2 separate regions of the Homo sapiens genome follow, and region 2 is linked to region 1. Evidence: promoter capture Hi-C in human tissues and cell types (Jung and others, 2019). All regions are on one chromosome and are shown on one strand. The core of a region is centred on a gene start or on the middle of the fragment in contact, and the rest is flanking DNA. Distances in the headings are between cores, read along the strand shown.

Region 1 (3,917 bases), core at 271-2,770:
AAGCAGCAGCGCCTTTAAATCTTAGATTCTCTTGTGTCTGCAAATTATCTTTTATCTTTCAGCTGTGAAATTTTGTCTATGAAGTAATACCACGAGCAAATTAGCAATAGGATTGCAAGGTTTTTATAGTCCCGTGCTGTAGAACAATTGGCAGTAATTTGAAAAAGACCGTCCATAACGCTGTTTTTGGTCTGCGGCTAAATTTGCAATTGCATAGTTTCATTAAGGAGAACTGGAAAGAGGGCCCAGAAGTTGTTCTAGCAATCGGCAGCAGTTTATCTATTTTAAATCGTAATGCATACTTTTTTTTTCCTCCTACTGAAAACAATGGCAGATATGCTAAAGGGAAGGACACATTCTTGAACTGCTAAATGGTTTTTCCAGATAGCCATTTACGGAGTGCACTCAATTGCCACTATCTGGCTGAAAGCAAAAGCACACACGACGGCCCCTTTTCTTTTTTCCCTTTGCAAAGCGAAACAGTCTAGACGTGTTCACGTGATGTGAATGACGTCAGCCCCCGCCGGGTCGCGTGACCGACACCCAGCCTTCCTACTACCTCCCCCTGACCGCCAGAGTGGGAAATATCGCGAGAATTCGCCTTACTATCAGAACTTACTGAGGTTGCAGGGGAGTTACTCAGAAGGGAAGGGAAGGTGTGGTTGTGCGGCGGAGTTTTTGCTTTCATTCTTTTAACGTTCACAGCCAAAGCAAAGGCCTTTGGGGATTGCCAGAGTCTCAGCCACCATCCTGGAAAACAGCGGGGGAGGTGGGCCTGGAGGTGGCAAGTGTAATGTGGCTCAGGGGCCGTCATTGCCCCTTGCAGAAGGGGCTGCGGGGGAGGGAGAAAACCTGCGCCCGGTTCTGGGGAGCTGGCGACGCAGTGAACCCTGCTGAGGCTGGGTTTTGCCCCGACAGTCGCTGGTGGCTGTGGGAAGGGTTGGGACCCTTCTCTGAGAGCAGTGAACAGCCCACATCCGGCCCCTGCTGTGTCAACTCTGAGCGGCGTGGAGATGAAGTGGTTGCTCTCCCTTGCTCGGCCCACCGGGTGTCGTGGCCCGGGAACCGGCCTGGAGAAGTCCCTGCTGCCCGGCGCCCAAAACAGGGGCGTGGGCTTCCGCGACCCAGGGCGGCTGCCCCGGGCCATCCTCGAGTTGCCCTGCATCTTCCCGCTCAGTCAGCCCCAGATTGAGGCAGCCTTCTCTGTGCGGGTTTAAATGGGTAACTGTGACTTCTCGCCTCATTCACCCAAACCTCCAGTCTTCTCCCCCGCACATCCTCCTCCACCCACCTGGTTTCTCCCTAGACTGGTGTGCTCGTGTGTGCAACCAAAGGAGGGAGTGCGAGAGATCCACGAAGGGACAGGCTTGGAGTCGCTAGAGGGAGGTGTGGGACCAGCGAGGAGGGGGCTTCGCCAGGGAGGGGGTGCTGGCAGGCGGAGGGAGCGGCGGGAGGAGGCGCCGGAGGAGGAGACGGAGGCCTGGGGACGGCAGAAGAGGCTTCGCCTGAGCCGAGCGCTCTTTCTCTCGCCGCGCCGTCTTGAAGCCGCGCGGGCTCGTGAGCAGCGCGAGGCCGCCAAGGTGCCTCGCTTCGCCGGAGCCGCTGCCGCCCGCCGGAGGGAAGCCGGCCTCGGGCGCGCACGCTCGTCGGAGCCCCGGCGCGCCCCGCGCCTGAGCCTGCTGACAGCGGCCGCTGGGCTCAGGCTGTCCGCTCTGGGCTCCGCGGCCTCGGCCCCGCTGCACTCCACCTCCGCCCCCTCGGACTCCCTCCCCTCTGCTTCTACTCCTCCTGCTCCAGTGCGGATCGTTTCGCAACTGCTTGCCACTCGTCCCGTGCCTGGCTGTTTTTCCATTTCCCGGCCCCCTCTTCTTGAGTACTTTACCCCCTGCATTTGGGGACAGGGACTGGAAAAGGGGCGGGTGGAGCGTCCAGTGGAGAAGAAGGAAGCGAGGCCCGCAGGAGGAGGAGGATCGGCGGACTGTGGGGAGGAGACCCCACGCCACCCTTTCTGGTCATCTCCCCTCCCGCCCCGCCCCTGCGCACACTCCCTCGCGGGCGAGCTACTTTCGGACCAGGAAAGTAAGAGCGGCCCTGGGTGACAGCGCCGCGGGGCCAGTCCCGGGGTTAGCCGCGCGTCTGCTCGCTTCTGGTCCGTCGCGCTCCCAGCCAGGGCACAGCCCGGACCGAGGATGGCTTCGACCACAACCTGCACCAGGTTCACGGACGAGTATCAGCTTTTCGAGGAGCTTGGAAAGTAAGCACCTTTGCCCGGCATCCGCATATCCCCTTTCCAGCTGAGGGCGGGTCGCGTTGCCCCCGACCCACCGGCCTCCGTCTTGGGGCGAGGGAGTTTGGGAGAGGAATGGGAGGAGGGCCCCTGGTTTGTCAGCTCTGGGGAAGGTGCTGTCTTAATAAAGGGAGGGAGCACAGAAGGGGTAGGACCCTTACTCCAACTGTGGCTCATTTTGATGGTCCCTAGCCCACCTTCTCCCGGTCCCCCACCCTCCTGCACTGAGAGACTTAGTGAATTTACGATCTCTGCAGTTGTAGCTATCATCCTGAGAAGTGTGCGCGCGCGCCTGTGTGTAATGTGTGTTTGGAGAGGAAATTAGAACCCATGTAAAATGCAACATAGATCATGTTTTCTGTAAATAGAGATGCCTCCTGGTTAGCCGGCGTGTCGGCCGTATGACCCAGGTACTGATGAGAACTCACAGCCTCAGACGGTGCCATATTTATTGATGCCGAAAGTTCAACTTGGCATAGAGTCTATTTCGCATCCAGTAGTTGTTCTGTCCAGGAAAAGGGCCACCCAACAGAACCCAACCCCTTGCCCTATATCCAGTGTTGTTCTTTGCACCAGATTACCGCTCACCATCATTCTTCCTAGGATTTACGTGTGCATCTTTGCGTTCTCTGGGAGGATTTATTTATACAGGCAACGGAAAAGCCCTCTGGAGACTGAGAGCGCTCTTAAGCGTAGCCTAGCATTGTGTAAAACCACCTCCTTCACCCGACTGGCAGAACTACTTGGAGATGTTAGGGAAGGAGGCAGGAGACCTACTGAGGACTTATGCAAAGGGACCTAGGGGCCAAGCCGTGAATGCTGATTTTTGTAGCATGGAACCCAAACCCAATTCCTCTTTCACTAGTTTCGACTGTTACTTTTATGAAAGGAGTGCGTTTATATGTATGTTGTTGGTTTATACTGTAATTAAAGGAAAGGTAAATATTTTTAAAAGTAATAAAAATTACATATGTATATATTGTCTGGTGTTAAAACATGGAGAATATGTCGGAAGAGCAGCTTAATTCAAATCTCTCCCCTCCCCCAGTCCAAAACAAGGCATAGAGAAATCACCATACCAGGATTTGTTAAACCACACTAATGTGCTCAAGATTTATATTTTAATGAAAATAATCGTCATGTTTACTTACTTGGAACCACATTAATTTTTTGTTTCCTACCAAAATAAGTAGGCAGCAGATTTTTTTGCTGCTCCTCGTCTGCTCTGTTCTGTGCAGGGTTTTTCTCAGAGCATTTGGTGCTGTGAGTGTGAACTGTAAAATGTTTTCAAATTTCTTGTGCAAACAAGAGCGGTCATAATTGGCAGTTCCTTTCATTTTGTTGATTAATAATGTGTGCTCCCAGTTAAATAAAATTTACTTTTATTCTTCAACATTAAAGAAAGTCTGGGTTTCCAGGAAGAATTGTTCATTTACTGGATATTACTGTACTTCACTGGCAATCCACTAAAATCAATAAAAATGCTCAGATTTTATAAATTTTTAATGAAATATTATATCTGTTATATTAATGACCTGCTAATTATTGGTTTCCAGGGGGGCATTCTCAGTGGTGAGAAGATGTATGAAAATTCCTACTGGACAAGAATATGCTGCCAAAATTATCAACA
Region 2 (4,257 bases), core at 316-2,815, 450 kb after region 1:
ATCATCAATTTGTGCAATGCCATGAACATTACACTTTATTCAAATTTGAAATCTTTTAAGAATCTCAGAGTATAAGGTCCAAATCTACCAATGTATCAAGACAGCTTATGGAACTCCAGAGGGGCTCCTCCTTCTGGGAGCACCCTTTATCTAAGTTATTGAAGCCAAGGACTCAATTTAATCTCCTTCCCCTTCCTCACCTAAATCATGAAATTCATCATGAAATCTGACTAGTTTTGCCTCCTACACATGTCTCAAAAAACTCTCAAATTTTTTATTTCTGAAATTCTCTCCATGACTATCACCAAGGTTAGAGTGCTAGTCCTCTCATGACACCTGCAGTTAATACACGAACAATTGCTTCTCAGAGTGGCTGCAATCTCCAGGTTTAGCCCTTTGAAACTCTCCTTTAAAATTCATCCTCTTTCTCACTGGCAGAAGGATCCCCCTGCTATGCAAATATAATTCCCGTCCTCCACACTTACACTCCAGCAACACTGCATTCCCTTTTTTCTCATACACCCTGCGAGCCTTTGCTCAAGACCTTGTTAAGGCTTCAAATGCCCTCCCCACTTTTCCTCACCATTGTTACTCATTATTTGGTCTCAGTTTGGTTTCATCTGCTCCAGGAAGCTAGAGCCTCAGGGCTTCAGTGGCACTCTATGTGTACCACTAGCTTATGCCCTCTCCCATCCCATTAGACTATGAAGTTAACAAGCCTATCTTGCTAAAGAAAAAAAAAAAGATAGTGGAAGGGGGCATTGGTGCTCAAGGAAAAAGCCCAAGAAAAGTTTGTTTTTGCTAATTATTCACTTAGACTTTAAGGTATTTATTTCTTAGACTCTATGCTGGATATTCATAAAATAGCTTACAATAGTGCCAACTTTAAAACTATAAACCTGAGATTATTGATTAGCAGAACACATTACACTACGTGGACAAACTTTCTTTTCTTTTCTTTTTTTTTTTTTCTGTCTCAAGAGACAGTGTCTTGCTATGTTGCCCAGCCTGGACTTGAATTCTGGGGCTCAAGGGATCCTCCAACTCAGCCTCCCAAGTAGCTGAGACTACAGGTCTCAGCACCCAGCCACTGCACCCAGCTATGACATCCATATTCATGGCCCAACTTATCAGTCATAATTTCAATGAGGAACCACAGAATGTCATTACCTAACTTGCATAAAAAAATAACAAGTGCCAGTTGTACTAGTTAATAATAACAAAAAGTAGCACTGATCATATATCTCAGAATATTATATAAACCTCCCAGATTTGCCTATTAACACTGGGCTCCCTCAGATTTTGCTCCGATTGTTTCTTGTATCCAGGCTCTCGTGGGATTCTGTTCGGATTCTTTTTCATGAAAAAGTCAGTTCCAGGCAGTTTTGTTCTGAATGTATTTCTTTTTAATTCAGCCTCACAACATACTTTATTCACAGAAATTATGTTACTAACAAAAAAGTGGGGGCAGAAGAGTATCCAAAGTGTCTGTGATGCCGCTCAGTAAGAATGTCTATAAGGCAAAATTGTCCTTTTAATTTGAGGAAAAAGTGGCCAGTGATGAAAAACGCCACATTTAAATGATGAGAACTCTTATTTATGATGGTTTTGCTTCTTACTAGTTGTTTGATTTTACCAAGTTATTTGATCTTTCTAGGCCTCAGTTTTCTGTTCTTTAAAATGGGCATATCTTAAAGTTGTTAGACAATGGAAAAACATAACATGCTAACTGCTGAGATTAATAAGGTACCTATTAAATGCTCAATAATTGCATCTACATTTTTATCATCATCATAAAAAATATGTTGCACATACTTCTGGCTGACATCAATTATAAGTTTTATGAGATACCTGTCAGATCGTCCTCCCTCCAAGCTGTATCGCAGGTAATTCATACCATCCAGGAACTGACTGCTGGGTAGTGAGTCATCACCCAGTTCTTTTAGGTCCTCAGGCCTAAGGTATTCTCCCCCATCACCAGTCATTGTGTCATCACCTTGAAACAATCAGAGGAAGAAGCAGGATTATTTCTTGAATGTAATATCAACTACAACATATGGTCATGATTGTGAAATGCATCAACATCATTACCTTGACCTTGATGAAACTGCACTGCACACTAGAACACAGAACACCAGCAAACAACTATACAGTGCTAAAACTTAGAGAAACAACATTTGATTCATTTTCTTAGTACTTACCAAGAAGAAGTAATCACTTGAATTTTAATTCTTTTAATATTAAGTTTGGATATCCCTTGTTGTTTACTTCTAGGAGAAAAAACTTCTAAGATGAATTCTAATTATAGATTTATCAAAACACAGGCATAGTCTGCTTTAGGATTAAGCCTACATTACTTTCAGAAAAAAATATGAGTTTTATTAACATTTCAGGAGACTACATCTATTCTTATTCATGAAAAGGTGAAGGGGATGGTTTAATACAGAATCTGTCACATAATACAAGCACAGTGCAAGCTGCATATTATGGATCCCTTGCAAAAAGCCAAAAAGATTATTTAAAAACTAAAAGTTGGCTGGCTGCAGTGGCTCATGCCTGTAATCCCAACCCTTTGGGAGGCTGAGGCAGGTGGATCACCTGAGGTCAGGAGTTCAAGACCAGCCTGACCAATATAGTGAAACCCTGTCTCTACTAAAAATACAAAAATTAGCTGGGCGTGGTGGCACATGCCTGTAGTCCCAGCTACTTGGGAGGCTGAGGCAGGAGAATTGCTTGAACCCAGGAGATGAAGGTTGCAGTGAGCCGAGATTGCACCACTGCACTCCAGCCTGGGTGACAGAGTGAGACTCATCTAAAAAAAAAAAAGTCTGCTTATATACTCTTTCTTTCCCCCAGTCTTCTACCCCACCCCTACTCCCCAAAATTCTAGCACCAAATTCTGAATACTACTTAGGTTCGAGCATCCTGTCCCTCCTCAGAGTCTGTTTGCTTTTGCATTTCATCTTGCTTCTCCTAATTTGCCAGTTCTCACCGCTGTCTCTCAGCAGCCAAGATGGTCACAGGGAATAAATACAACTCAAAATAAGCTTTAACTTCTTGGTCCTTAAAAATCCACAAAACTCCTTAATAAAATGGGTCCTACATTTCAAATTTTCTTATTTCTCCCATTTATCTTTCCCTCTTGTTACACCTTGGTAGGGTGAGGAAGGTTTATAAGGGTGAAGAAAGAAAAGGTGAGAAAGGTAAAGATAAAAGAAGAGTCTGGCTGGAATGACTCTACATCTGAAGGAGCAAGACACAGCATTTGATCAGGTAGAACATGCAAATCAACCACAGGAACCCAGCCTTCCTCTCTCGTGTGAATAGAATCTTATTAGAAAATAGAAAGACATTTGAAGAATATATTTTTAATCAAATATATCAAAATTTTATGACTCTGGTGACAAGACAAAAATTTAAAACTTCTGATTGGCCAGGTACAGTGGTTCACACCTGTAATCCCAGCACTTTGGGAGGCCGAGGCAGGAGGATTGCTTGAGCTCAGAAGTTTGAAACCAGCCTGAGTAACACCTAGACCTCATCTCTACTAAAAATTTTTTTCAAATTAGCAGGTCATGGTGTCATGCACCTGTATTCCCAGCTACTTGGGAGGCTGAAGTGGGAGAATCGCTTGAGCCCAGGAAGTCGAGGCTACAGTGAGCCATGATCGCACCACTGCACTACAGCCTGGGCAACAGAGTAAGACCCTGTCTCAAAAAAACAAAAAACAAACAAGCAAACAAACAAACAAAAAAACCACCTCTGATTACGCTGAGTTCCTAAGTGAATGTCCTTTACATTCTCCCTTATTTTGTGCATTTTGATGGTTTTGTTATGATGCTATCTGCCTAAGGCTGCTGCTAGGTTCAGTGCTACTTAAAGTGAATTTTTAGCATTTTCATATACACCTGGGGTGGCCCTAGGTATATAGTCAATGTCTTGATTATGTCTCAGAGAGAAATGACCCAAAGAAGCAAAGTCCCTAAATGCTGAAAGCAGTGTCTAAATCCTATCCCAGTGTTGGCATTAGCTGGAAAGCCACCTCTCTGGGGACTAATCTTGTCAGTGCTATATAAAATTTCTCTCGAAGACAGTTAGATGTATATAAATCATGCTATTCAGTAATACATACCAGCAGTGAAAGATGGAAAGTGAAAGCAAGTAGAAATTAACAGAATGTGAAAAATCACTTTGAAAAAAATTACCCAGGTTGGTCTATAACTGGAAAATTCTGCATACAAATCAAAGCTTTAAATG

Evidence for each region. The method cuts DNA at HindIII sites, captures the fragments that hold promoters and counts their contacts. A contact is called where the count stands out against the background at its distance.
Region 2: a contact is called between a fragment that was not itself captured here and the fragment with the promoter of CAMK2D in region 1, in 1 of the 25 tissues and cell types used here (dorsolateral prefrontal cortex).

Annotation. Positions count from the first base shown.
Region 1 is chr4:113,759,341-113,763,257 of GRCh38, reverse strand. It overlaps CAMK2D (calcium/calmodulin dependent protein kinase II delta), which reads left to right and starts at 1,520. Exons shown (of 21, transcript NM_001321571.2): 1 at 1,520-2,254; 2 at 3,844-3,917. The coding sequence starts at 2,190. RefSeq lists enhancers at 253-791, 792-1,330 and a silencer at 1,324-1,733. The HindIII fragment of the contact is 17,098 bases long and covers 1-3,917 here.
Region 2 is chr4:113,308,994-113,313,250 of GRCh38, reverse strand. ANK2 (ankyrin 2) reads right to left here. Exons shown (of 46, transcript NM_001148.6): 24 at 1,852-1,996. Among named protein-coding and RNA genes, the nearest start is that of MIR8082, 160 kb to the right of the region's middle. The HindIII fragment of the contact is 4,166 bases long and covers 1-3,648 here.